2 separate regions of the Homo sapiens genome follow, and region 2 is linked to region 1. The links are contacts of gene promoters, found by promoter capture Hi-C in human tissues and cell types (Jung and others, 2019). All regions are on one chromosome and are shown on one strand. The core of a region is centred on a gene start or on the middle of the fragment in contact, and the rest is flanking DNA. Distances in the headings are between cores, read along the strand shown. Region 1 holds the start of EML5 (EMAP like 5). Region 2 overlaps ZC3H14 (zinc finger CCCH-type containing 14).

Region 1 (6,347 bases), core at 2,164-4,663:
ATATATATATAAAATATATAACATATAATATATATATAATATATATAACATATAATATATATATAATATATATAACATATAATATATATATAATATATATAACATATAATATATATATAATATATATAATATATATAACATATAATATATATATAATATATATAATATATATAACATATAATATATATATAATATATATATACTTTTTTTTTTTTTGAGACAGAGTTTCACTCTTTGTTTCCCAGGCTGGAGTGCGGTGGTGCGATCTCAGCTCACTGCAACCTCCACTTCCCGGATTCAAGCGATTCTCCTGTCTCAGCCTCCCGAGTAGCTGGGATTACAGGCGCCCGCCACCATGCCTGGCAAATTTTTGTGTTTTTACTAGACATGGAGTTTCACCATGTTGGCCAGGCTGGTCTCAAACTCCTGACCACCCACCTTGGCCTCCCAAAGTGCCGGGATTAGAGGTGAGAGCCACCATGCTAGCTAGAAGTAATTGCATGAATTTTTTTTTTTTTTTTCTGAGATGGTGGCCTGCACCACCACACCCGGCTACTTTTTTTTGTATTTTTAGTAGAGATGGGGTTTTGCCATATTGGCCAGGCTGGGGAATTTTGGTTTTTATGTTTTCTACATTTTGCCTTAGATTTCTTTATAAACCTAAGGGTACCTAATCAGTAGCCAGCACATGATTTATTTGCCTGAATTTTAGAAATATTTCAAATATCTCAAATTCCATACTAGGAACTCAAGTTTCAGGAACTAGATTACCAAAGGGGGTGATATGGTTTGGCTGTATCCCACCCAAATATCACCTTGAATTGTAATAATCCCCACATGTCAAGGGTGGTGCCAGGTGGGGATAATTGAATCGTGGGGGTGGTTTCCCCCATACTGTTCTAGTGGTAGTGAATAAGTCTCATGAGATCTGATGGTTTTATAAATGGAGCTCCCCTGCGCAAATTCTTCTTGTCTGCTGCCATGTGCGACTTTGCTCCTCTTTGCCTTCCACCATGATTGTGAGGCCTCCTTAGCAATGCGGAACTGTGAGTCAATTAAACCTCTTTTCTTTATAAATTACCCAGTCTCAGGTATGTCTTTATTAGCAGCATGAGAACGGACGAATACAGGGGGTATTGCAGCCTTCGTCTGGAATGCTTAACAAATGTCCATTTGTTGATGTGTATAATTTTTTGTTTCTTTCTCCCACATCCTTATTTGCATTACTTTCACAGGATACAGATGATGGAATATCACCTAGCAATAGAAGCTTCATTAAGCTTTCTGATGTGACATTGGTAATACTGGATTATATAAAGTTGTGAGGGTAAGAACTGATCAGGTTTGTTTTTTTCTTCCTCTAGTATTCATGAATGGTTCATTTTCTAGCCACCTTTGTGCCTCGGCTGTCTCTTTTGGTCTTGAGTCGCCAGTTGAGGATGGTTTAATTAAGAATGTTTTTGCTTCGCACTCTACACTTGGGTCATTAAAATCGTAATGGAAAATATGATAATGGGAAAATAAATTACTTAAATCTCTTATTAATCTGAGTACTTAAGTGTGTATCATGGGATCCATAAGATATTGTGCTGAAAAATCCGAAACATAGAAAAAACTATATTCTTCCATCTCGTCTCATAAAATTTACATGTAACCAGTAATTAATATATCACAAATGTATAGCAACAAATATTTAATGTTTTCTAAGTTCACTGCTTGAATTTAAATAATCAACAATTTTTCTTTTTCTCACCAGGGGATTTCAAGGAACTCACTAGTGAATTAGAACATATTCTTATTAAAAAACAGAAAACGCCCTCCTGGTGACAAAGAGAAACTGTGTGTGCTTTTGCCCAGGGTACCCTACATGGGCCTTAGAGCCACTTCTCAGGCCTGATTTCTTTGTTTATTTGCAGCAGCTGCCAGAAAGCTATTCCTCTTTTTCAGATTCTGCCCAGAATGGAAACTCTTTCAGAGTTTACTTTTCATGACATCTATGTAAATTCCTTTCAGATGGCCTTTATTTCCTGCATGTAAACTGCTTGCAGATTAGAAGTCATAATCAAAGACGAAACGGTAATCCTGTCTCAAGTTAGTAACTGGCATCTTTGAGGAAGTAGACATTGGATAACATCTATTCCAATATATCTGTACCACACAGGAGTCAACCCCTTTTGGAGTCATATTTCTTGAAACGATGGTAGTTTATTTTAGCTTTTGTCAGATTTCTGTCTTGGTATTTCCTATGGAAATCAAACAGTAATTTTTAGACAATAAGGGTTCATATTGGTATATCCTGAATTAGTATTTTTTTGTTGTAAATCTTGTGGCCATCCTGAACTTAACACTTTTTAAATTGTGGATTTCCAATTATTTTTAGAGGTATTGATAAATCTTGTTCATATTCCTGTGAGAAGAGGACACAACTGAGTAGGAGGGGAAATGACATAGTCAGGAATTGATTGTTCCCAATACTTTTATTACAGGAGTTTTCTACAGGATCACAATTGAATTTATTTAATTAAGAGTAACTGTTGGTGATGTCCCAGTCATTTTTAAAAAAATCGAAGTACAATTTTTTTTTTTTTTGCTATTCGGAAATCAGATCTCACATGTCAGTTTACCATCTAAAGTCTACCTTCAGCTTTGCGGTCACTTAAGAAAACATACACTTAGGACCAGGAGCAGTGGATTGGGCCTGTAATCCCAGCGCTTTGGGAGGCCTGAGGCAGAAGAACTGCTGAAGGTCAGGAGGTGGAGACCAGCCTGGGCAACACAGCAAGACCCCCGCCTCTACAAAATAAACTTAAAAACAAAGCAAAACATTTGCCGGGCATAGTGGTACGCAACTGTACTCCTTACTACTCCGGAGACTGAGGCGGGAGGATCGCTGGAGCCCAGGAGTTGGAGGCTACAGTGAGCTGAGACTGCGCCACTCCACTCCAGCCTGGGCGACAGAGCGAGGCTCTGTTTCTAAAAATAATAATTTAAAAGCACATTTAGGAAGCTCGGCATCATTCCAATGTCTGGGTCCGAAAGCACTATAAGGCAGCAAGACACACAAGGTATCAAGCGTAAAAAAGAGAATTTAGCATCCCGGTGTGGATTTTCCCAGGCAAAAACGTGGCCTACGCTGGGTGCAGGGACCGTGCGGAACCGGCAGGTGCTTCCCGGTTGAGGACGCAAAGCAGCGGGAGCCCGGGGTCGCCGAGGGTCCGCCTGGGCTTAAGCAGCTCAACGAGGGAGGGCTCACCGGCCCGCGCACTTGCAGAGACGCGGTCCCAGCGACTCCGCAACTAGACCGTGGCCCCGCGAACTCCAGCCTCTTCTCGGCTCCGGGAGGGGCGGAGTGAGCGCGGGAGGGGGCGGGGCCACGCAAGGCCGCGCGCCCGCCGCTCGGCTCGGCTCGGCTCGGCTCGCTCGGTTTCGGGGTGCGCGGCGCGGGTCCGCCAGGCTGTGGCTACAAAGCCGCGGCGGGGCGCGAGCGCCGCAGGTGACCGGGGCTGGGAGCTGCGTGCGCGGGCGGCGGCTGAGGAGCTGGAGGCGGGCCCTCGCTCTCGGCCCAGGCGCTACGGGCTGAGGAGACTAGGCGAGCCGAGGCGGGCGAAGGGCTCTGGGCATCCACTTGACAGCCGGCGGCGCTCGCGGCCCTCAGCATGTTCCGCGAGGCGAGGGTTTTCCTCCCGCCTGTGGGCTGAGGCGGCGGCGGCCCCCGAAACGAGATGCACCTGACGGGCGCGGCTTAGAGGACGCGGCTGGCGGGAAGTCCCGGCAGCCAGCGGGAGGGCTTTCGTTGCCGGGCCGCCGCCGCCTCCCGTCGCCGCCGCGGGCCCGAGCGGGAGCGGCGGGTGGGCGCCCCGACATGGCGGCCCGGAGCGCCCCGAGCTGCCACCTGCGGCTCGAGTGGGTGTACGGCTACCGGGGCCACCAGTGCCGCAACAACCTCTACTACACTGCGGCCAAGGAGATCGTATACTTCGTGGCGGGGGTCGGCGTGGTGTACAGCCCGCGGGAGCACAGGCAGAAGTTCTACCGGGGCCACAGCGACGACATCATCAGGTACCGGGGAGCGGGGGCCGCCGCCGTCACCCTGCAAGCCGCTCCCGGAGTTTGCACCCGCGGGTTCCTCTGGACGCCGTGACCGCTCCTGCACGGAGCATCACCCCGAGGGGAATCCGCAGCTGTCTCTCTGGTCCCGAGTCCACCAGTTAACACCCTACAAATGCCTTTCCCCTCTTCCTCGTCTAGGGACTCTCTCTCGGGTCCGTGCAGGAAGATCAGGTCCGCGGATCCACCGGGCACCCGGTTTGACGGCTTTGTCCCCTTTCCCACTCCATCACAATTACGAAAACTGCGAAAAGGTTATTTTGGTGGCACTTTATTCCGTTAGATCCTGTGAGAAATTTCTTATTAAACGCATTCTTAAAGCACCCGGGGTGGGGGGAAACCCTTTACCTAATAAAGGACTGATGGAAGCACAGCAAGCGGTGGGCTGCTCCCGGGGAGCGCGCCCAGGGTGGCGTCCTGAAGGGCTCTCACCTCCTGGCCGTAATTATTAGTTCAGGTTTCACCGCCTGCTATAATCAGCAGAAACCCCAGGCAACCTCCAGGCAATTCACTGGATGTTAAAATGTGCACACCTGAAGGCAATTTAAGGTAGGTCTTATCTGAAGAGGCTGCTGAAAACTTCACTGATTTCCAGTTCTCTTCATCTTCATTAAAATACTCCTAAATAAGCTACTTTTGTATTTTCTTAAAATTAAATCGCTATTGGGGGGCTATTTTTAGTCTTCCTTGGACAATAACTCAAAGTTGGTCCCAGAGCTTGTTGACATTTCTTTAGTGAGCGGTATATTTGAAATGTAATTTTCAATCAGTGTCTTAGTACAACTTTTATGGTAAAGTCAAGAGCTTCAGAAATCATTCTAGGCCACTGATTATTGCCTCAAGCACAGCATTTTTTGTCCTTTACAGAGGAAAATATATTAAAAGCAATTGAGAATGTGTTTGTGTGGTGCTCTTGGGGTTTTATCAAAGATTCTACGATTTGGGTTTGGTTACAAAATGTTATTCCCTCATGTATGTTGCACAGGATTTAAATTGGGCATTTCAAATACGGTACCTTGGTTTGAAGTCTTGTAGGCAAGAAGCCCTGGTATGTAAATTCCACAAATAAAGTTGTTCTTCTGTTTTGCGTCTCTGTACATCTATAATATGTAAGAGGGAAAGGATGCCTAGGACAAACAGAGGTAGGGCAAGATGGAGTAAAGATAAGAAAAGACAAAATTGAGATTGCAGAGTAAGGAATGAGGTGGTGCTCTGTATTCAGTTGGTTTTTTTTGTTTGTTTTTGTTTTTTGGACACCAGAGTGCTTTTTCAGATTGTATTTAATGTATTACTTTGAAAAGGTAACTGATAAGTCATTTCATTTTTCTCAAGCTGGGACTCTGTATCGTGGTGATTAGGGTTACAGACCTATTATAATAGCCCAAATTGCTGATGGAAAAACAAAACTAAAGTAAACCCGTAGTAATTATTTATCTTCTTAGTTATCCCAAGAGTAGAGTTTACCCCAGTGTCTTGTCTTTTTCCCTAATCCTTTCAAGTCTCCCTTCTTTTCCATATGCTAGGTCTCCCAAAGTACCAGGCATAGTAGCTTTACCTAGCTGGAGCAGCCTTAACTGAAGCCCTGCTCCAGATAATTTAGTCTGTTAGGTTGAATTCAGCTGGTGGAGTAAATGTGAAGGATTTTGAGGTCTTCTCGTGGTACACTTGTATTGTTTTTACTCCTTGGGGGTTATGAGAGCAGTATAGCACTAAGGTCTTCTGAAACTAGATATGATTTATTTGGTGAGGTAAATTACATCTTGTTCTTCTAGCAGTAATTAGAAGCTGTGTTATATGTCACACCGCTTAAATTTCATAATTGTGTTTCAGTAAACTGTAAGGAAGGTAATGCTTTGACTTTCTTTTGGTATAGTTGCACAACTTATACAAAACAACAAACATACTCGAATTTCTCATCGTTGAATATACATGCTTATGATTTTATCCAAATGACACATCTTTAATGTATAACAATGAAAATAAGTTTCCTGAAAAGTTTCAATGAGGGAGTAAAATCTGAATCATACAGCATCTTGAAATTGGTGGCACAAATTTAATATGATACTGAGAATATAATTTAGGAATCAGTGAAAGGGCTCTGGACATTTTATTTCAAATAGTAATGACAGATCATTCATGTTTGTGAAATATATTGAGCTAATATTAAAACCTCAATATTTTTTCAGTTCAGTGTTTGACTTGTGAGTATAGAAACAACTCTAGTAATTTTTAAATTATGC
Region 2 (6,347 bases), core at 2,053-4,552, 200 kb after region 1:
ACCACTCTGCACTTTCTGAGACGAAGGAGTTCTACCAGTTCATAGGTTGGGTGAACACAGAAGAGATGAAAATAATGCTGAAGGTGGGAGAGAGCAAAGCTAACCTTTTGAGGAGGAATGGAGGAGATGCGCTGACACATGAGAATGAAAGGGAATGAGAAGAATAAAGACAGAGTGAACTGGAAGCCGAAAGGTCAAAGCTTGGAGAAAGTATGGGAACCCAAGTGTAACATGCTCCAGGGTTGAGGAAAGCGTGCACCGGTCCCTCCCGCACACCTCTCTGCAAGCGGAACGTTAGCAGCCCAGGTCACATGGAGACCAGACAGACGGGGGAGTAAGTAACATCTTCTGAGTAGAGACCACAGGCTGACCCCATGCATTTACTTTTTGTTCCCTCCTGAAAGCCCACAGAAATGTCAATAAGGGTTTTGTTTTTGTTTTGAAAGCATAAACTCACAAAGAAAATAAGTGTAAAAAGAAATTTTCAAAGTGGAAAACAGATGATTAAGAACTCAGGGGATCTGTAAAAGCTGAATTCTAAGGCAATAATGAAGCAATCCAATTCAGACCACAAGATTCTCCAAAGGCTCAGGAACTGGCAGTAAAAGGACCTTAGGAAGAAATGGAAGAAATGGCAGGCAAAAAAGAGGTGTATTAGATGTGTCCAAGAAGCAGTTAGTTCTTCTTCAACTCTAATTCCATGTATCTGTTTTCTTTGTTTGAGACAGTCTTGCTCTGTCACCCAGGCTGGAGTGCAGTGGTGCGAGCTCAGCTCACTGCAACCTCCGCCTCCTGGGTTCAAGCAAGGCTCCTGCCTCAGCCTCCTTAGTAGCTGGGATTACAGATGTGCACCACCACGCCTGGCTAATTTTTGTATTTTTTAGTAGAGATTGGGTTTCGCCATGTTGGCCAGGCTGGTCTGGAACTCCTGACCTGAAGTGATCTGCCTGCCTTGGCTTCCCCAAGTGCTGGGATTATGGGCGTGAGCCACTGCACCTGGCCACTGTTTTCTTGGTTTTGATGCTTGCCACACCAATCCCGACCTCTACACTGAAGACACCTGGGATGACTGGTGATGTGCTTTCCTGTAGATAATCTTCGGAGAGGCCTATGGATGAAGCATTAGGGTCTCTGCCAGAAAGATGCTACGACAAAATCACCTGAAGGTACACTGTTAAAAATTTTTAAAGGCAATTAGATTTCCTGATAAATCTTTACCCACTGCATGCATTCTCCCTTGGAGAAAGTGGAGCTTTAGACTCTTCAGAGGATAAGAACAGAGTCCCTGGACCAAGAGACACCAGCCATGATGAAAGAAGTACTGGACTGACAATGGTTGGGGGAGGGTTAAATAAACATTACATAATAATTAATGGTGAGGTGCCTCCCCCAGCCTTCTTTCCCCACTTAAGCTCGCAGAACTCTGACTACCAGGCTATTACTTGAAAAACTTTGTTTTGGAGAAGCTGACCAGCCTGAGAGGAAAGTCTTGAAGGCAGTGACATCAGGGTGCCCACAAACCAGACAGGCAGGACAAATCACTTTCCACCACAGGGTCTAGTTTCAAACAGAAAGTCAAAGTGCCCCATGCCCCAACTCATGAACCCAGAATACCAGTGACCTTCTGAGTGCTCCACTCTTAAATGTAAGACCACCTAGGATCCCCAGACATCAGAGGGGAACCTCCAGCATAAAAGACAGCCAAAACAGACCACTTAGAGAAAACAAGACGAAGCAGGGAGGGGAAAAATGTCAAAACCACCTTTCAGACCACAGAGAAATAACAAAGAGTATTGTGTACACAAAATCAGTATGTTTTTAGAAAATTAATAGAATATGCAGAAACAAAGGGATCTTAGAATAAAAAATGTGATAGGAGCTAAGGACTGCAGTCATTCATAAGCCTCACAGAACTACTTGCTATTTCAAACTGCGTGCACCATGGGTACAATGAAAAGCTGAAGGAGGCAGAAGAGAAAACATGCACAAGAGCTGATGAAGTGGATCCCACACACAGATCTCGGCTGTCAACCTTTTCAAATACTCCTGTGGAGGAAGCAGGACGGACTGCTGGGAGATGAGAGAGCAAAATCACGGGCAGAGAATGTCTGAACACCTCTACAGAGAGAAGACAGGAGGCAGAGAATGAAGTTGGAGGAGTGGGTGACATGCCAGTGGCTCACCAACCCAGTGGGATCTGGCCTCTGGTGGAGGCTGACCCTTAGGGAGGAAAAGCACACTTTCTGAGCTGGAAAGCTGGGGGAGGGTCGGGGAACAGAGTGACTGACTGTGGAGTCCTGACTGAGAGGGGTCTAGGGACCAGAGCTTCCCACAAAAGACAGACTTAGGGGAAACAGAAGGACTGAGATGATTCCGGGTCTCTCATGGTTGCCTGTGTTTATCCTGCAGTCATTTTTAAGACATTGAACATGCATCTGGCAGGGGCTGGGCACTGAGGACAGAGATAATAAAAATGAAGGCGTCAGCTCCAGTCCTGGAGTAGCCCCTGGCATGTGTGTCTGTGGGGAGAGGAAAGGAGACAGGCAAACTAGAGTGGCTCTAGAACACTAGAACAACAAGTTCCAGGTGTGGCCCTGGTGATAAGACTCCAAAATGAAGTACAAGAGGATAAGGCTAACCAGGTGAAAAACAGGATACAAAAGCCACTCATGGCAATGACAAAAGCTGGGTAGAGTGGGAGGGTAAATCAGAAACGCAGGTCACTCCTGACAGCAGGAGAGTGACAGCCGACAGTGCTAGGGACACACTTGGAATGGTGTGAAAGGAACAAAGTTTTCCAATGAGGCAAAAAATTATAACACTATATAACATGAAAGAAATGCAGATCTTATCTCCTGGCCCTAAAATATTTTCACAGATCTAAATATAACATCTTAGGGCAGGATCTAAGAGATCCGAGATACGTTAAATGGGGTGTAAGAAATGGAAATGGCAACTGAAATGGCTGGATTACAGTACAACTTGAAACATTACCAACCTTGACTCATCTGCAGAGTTTCTGCCATTACTGGGTCGATTTGCAGTCGGGATAATAATTGCCTCTGTTGAGTTCCTAGAATATAAATTTTAAAACTTCACTAAGCTTACAACACAGACAATACCAGCATGTGGTTCCCAAAAATCAATCCTTCTGGGTTCTTAACTTGAAGTCTTAAAAGTAACTTAAAGCTTCAACAATTCAATTTAATAGTATTTATAGACCAAAGACATATCCTGTAAGACAAAAAAGGCTGTACTCAGGGTTAAACCACAAATGCCAATTTAAAACACTCCTGGTTCTCCCTCTATGAGGACATCAGTTTTCCTGAATTTGAATTCTGCGGGGAAAGTAAAGGTGGCAAACGGGTGGAAAATCCAGGAAAAGGCACCTTGTGGCCCAGCAGCTCGCATCACAGCCAACTGCACAATAAGCATGGCAAGCACCTCCCTCCATCACCTGAGCTCTTACCATCACGACTCACTCATGACCTTTGAAGATAATCGAAATAGCAAAACAAAACACTCTCATCATCTAAACAAGAGTTCCTAAAAGACAAACTCTGGGCTTCGATGCATGCAAAGAAAACAATAAGACACTCAGCTCTACAATCCACACCCTATGTTAGCAAAGCATGATAATAATTCTTTGCCTCTTCCACAAGAAAAGATGTTCAACTACTTATTTCTTCTAAAATAGGCTCCTAACATTAATTCCTATTAGGTTCACTATTCCTAACAATAATATGCCCAGCAGTCTGACTGCACAAAATAGGGACAAAGAACTGATTTTTTTCCATCCTCGATTTGATGTTAAGCTCCTTGAGGATGGGAGAATGTCACACTTTTCTGTAGCCCCCACAGCGCTTAGCAGACATCAGGCACTCACTTGCTCATTATAAGGTACTGCACTACAGTGTACAAAGGGATGTAACTGATAGGGTTGCAAATACTGAAATCTTACTAAGATGCCCACATGCTGATTTTGGGTATATCCATTACAGGTGGCTTCACAAGGACAGGCTTTGCTTACTCAGTGCAAAGATGTTAAGTGGGCCATCTCCCACCAAGCACCACATTTCATTAAAAGGTGTTTTTAAATTTTAAAACCTATACTCGATTTGAAATTGTATCAGTTAGTTTCCTTTAAAACATAAGTTATATGAAATTTTACTGGTGCGTCCCAAAAAAGTCAATTCCTTCCAGAATTATTACCATAAAAAAACACACATTCTGAGGAACTGTAACGAAGATGACACTTAGGTCAAGTTGCATTCCTGTGGGAAGCTTGGAAAACTGAGGTGAAAAGTTACAGGAAGAATGCTCTTTCCATCCAAATACTGCAACAGGTCTCCTTCACATCAACAGTACATGATGAAAGAATGAGACATTTTAAAATAATTTCACAAGACACATGAAAGACCACACTTCCACATTTCAAGTTTTGCTTCATTGCTCTAGGTTCATCTGTCTTTTCAAAACATCGTTTTAGAGAGCTCCATTAAAGAGGATGGAATTCTGATCAATTCTAGATTGCTAAGCTAAATCAAGCAGAATCCAAATTTGTCATTAAAGGTCCATGAAAAATTCAAGTTCTCTGTAACTTGCTCCCTCCACATCAGAGCTACAGTCAACATACGTGGAAAGATACAGATCAAAGGATGGGTACCTAGAACATATCATATATTAAGAGTTTACCTTTCTCAACGTTTCTAAGGAAGCCGATTATTTTTACATCAGTAGTTCTTGACTGTGATTCAGTATCTTCTTCTTGATCTTCAAACTGTCTGTTGCATTCATATGTTGTTGAATATTCATTCATTTTAACCTCCAAAGATGAAATTTTTGCTTCATTCTTGGACACTCTAACATTTAGATCAAAAAGATTTGCTTCCACTGTCAAAATAGCTGCTTTCATTCCTTTAATTTCATTGATATCAGCTGATATTTTCCTTAAAAGGTGGGAAATATTGTCTAGCTCATTCAGTGAACAAGAGGAGCTTGTTATGGAACCTAAGTCCACTGGCTCCGGTGGAAGAAAAATTGGTAGAGGTGGTGATGGAAACTTTGAAGACATTCTCATAAAGGTGACAGGAACCTCAAAGACATTTTCATAAAATTCTCTCCCTTAAAATCTGATAATTTTTTCTTCACAGCTCATTAAGTTATTTCATCGAAAGTAAAAGCAGTGATCAAGGCTGTTACCTTAAGACGTATTAAGAGCAAATAACATCTTAAAACCTGTAATTCAAAAGATGGGGTTGTACATTTCTAGAGTCAGAATTCAAAACTAAATGTGAAAAAGCTAAACGTACCAGACCAATTGCTCTTCGCTACAACTAAGAAGCCCTAATACGTAGGGCCCTACATCCTCTAAGTACCATCTGTATAGCTCCTCTTCCAGTAAACCCTATTATTACATACAAAATAATCCTGGTTTCTGATTGGCTGAAAACAGACATGTGTCACACAAAGAATTTTCTATTATTTACTTCATATGATGAGAGCACTGAAGCGCTACTTTATAGGTTAAGCAATATAACATTAAGTGCTTTACATCTAAATATGATATGAATTAAATGTACTTTTCCCTTTTCATCATCTAAACCATAACATTTTTAAGCTTCAGATTTCTGATTTGTTTTGAGTTGTATTTCCCCTTGAAATTAGTATATAACATTATTGAGAGTGACAAATCCTCTGGAGGGAAAGGGCGGAGAAAGTAACTGGACCCGTGATCCACACAAACTTCTTTCAAGATACATGTGGTAATGACAGAATTCAACTTCACTAATATAGTATCGTGTAAACTTAAGGATGGGGAAATAAGAACTCAGCCTTGGCTTAATACTAGACCATTATTAGACAGGTGTTTCTTAAATATTCTCTCCCATTTTGTTGTCTTTTTTTTTTTTGATAGTATCTTTTGAAACACAAAAATACTAAATTTTGATGAAGTCCGAGTTATCTTTTTTCCTTTGGTTGCTTGTGCTTTTGGTGTCATATTTAAGAAATCATTCTGGAATCCAAGACATATCTATTTTTTTCCCTAAGAGTTTTGAAGTTTAGGTTTTTGATCCATTTTGAGTTATTTTTGTTTATGACATAAGATAAGGTTCCAACTTCATTCTTTTCATGTGGATATTCAGTTGTCCCAGCATCACCTGTGGAAAAACCTATTCTTTTGCCAATAAACTGTCTTAACACCGCTGCCAAAAATTGATGGGTTGTGAAAGTATGCATTTATTTCTGGATTCTCAATTCCGGTCCACGGGTCTGTATGGTCATCCTTATGCCAGTACCACACAGTCTTCATTACTCTAGCTTTGTAGTAAGTTTTGAAATCAAGC

The links. Contacts are between HindIII fragments. The study calls those that stand out against the background at their distance.
Region 2: a contact is called between a fragment that was not itself captured here and the fragment with the promoter of EML5 in region 1, in 1 of the 25 tissues and cell types used here (IMR-90 fibroblasts).

The regions. Positions count from the first base shown.
Region 1 is chr14:88,790,019-88,796,365 of GRCh38, reverse strand. EML5 (EMAP like 5) reads left to right here and starts at 3,413. Exons shown (of 44, transcript NM_183387.3): 1 at 3,413-4,059. The coding sequence starts at 3,863. RefSeq lists silencers at 3,273-3,632, 3,823-3,902. The HindIII fragment of the contact is 27,448 bases long and covers 1-6,347 here.
Region 2 is chr14:88,593,460-88,599,806 of GRCh38, reverse strand. ZC3H14 (zinc finger CCCH-type containing 14) reads right to left here. Exons shown (of 17, transcript NM_024824.5): 10 at 2,999-3,073. Among named protein-coding and RNA genes, the nearest start is that of ZC3H14, 34 kb to the right of the region's middle. The HindIII fragment of the contact is 3,300 bases long and covers 1,653-4,952 here.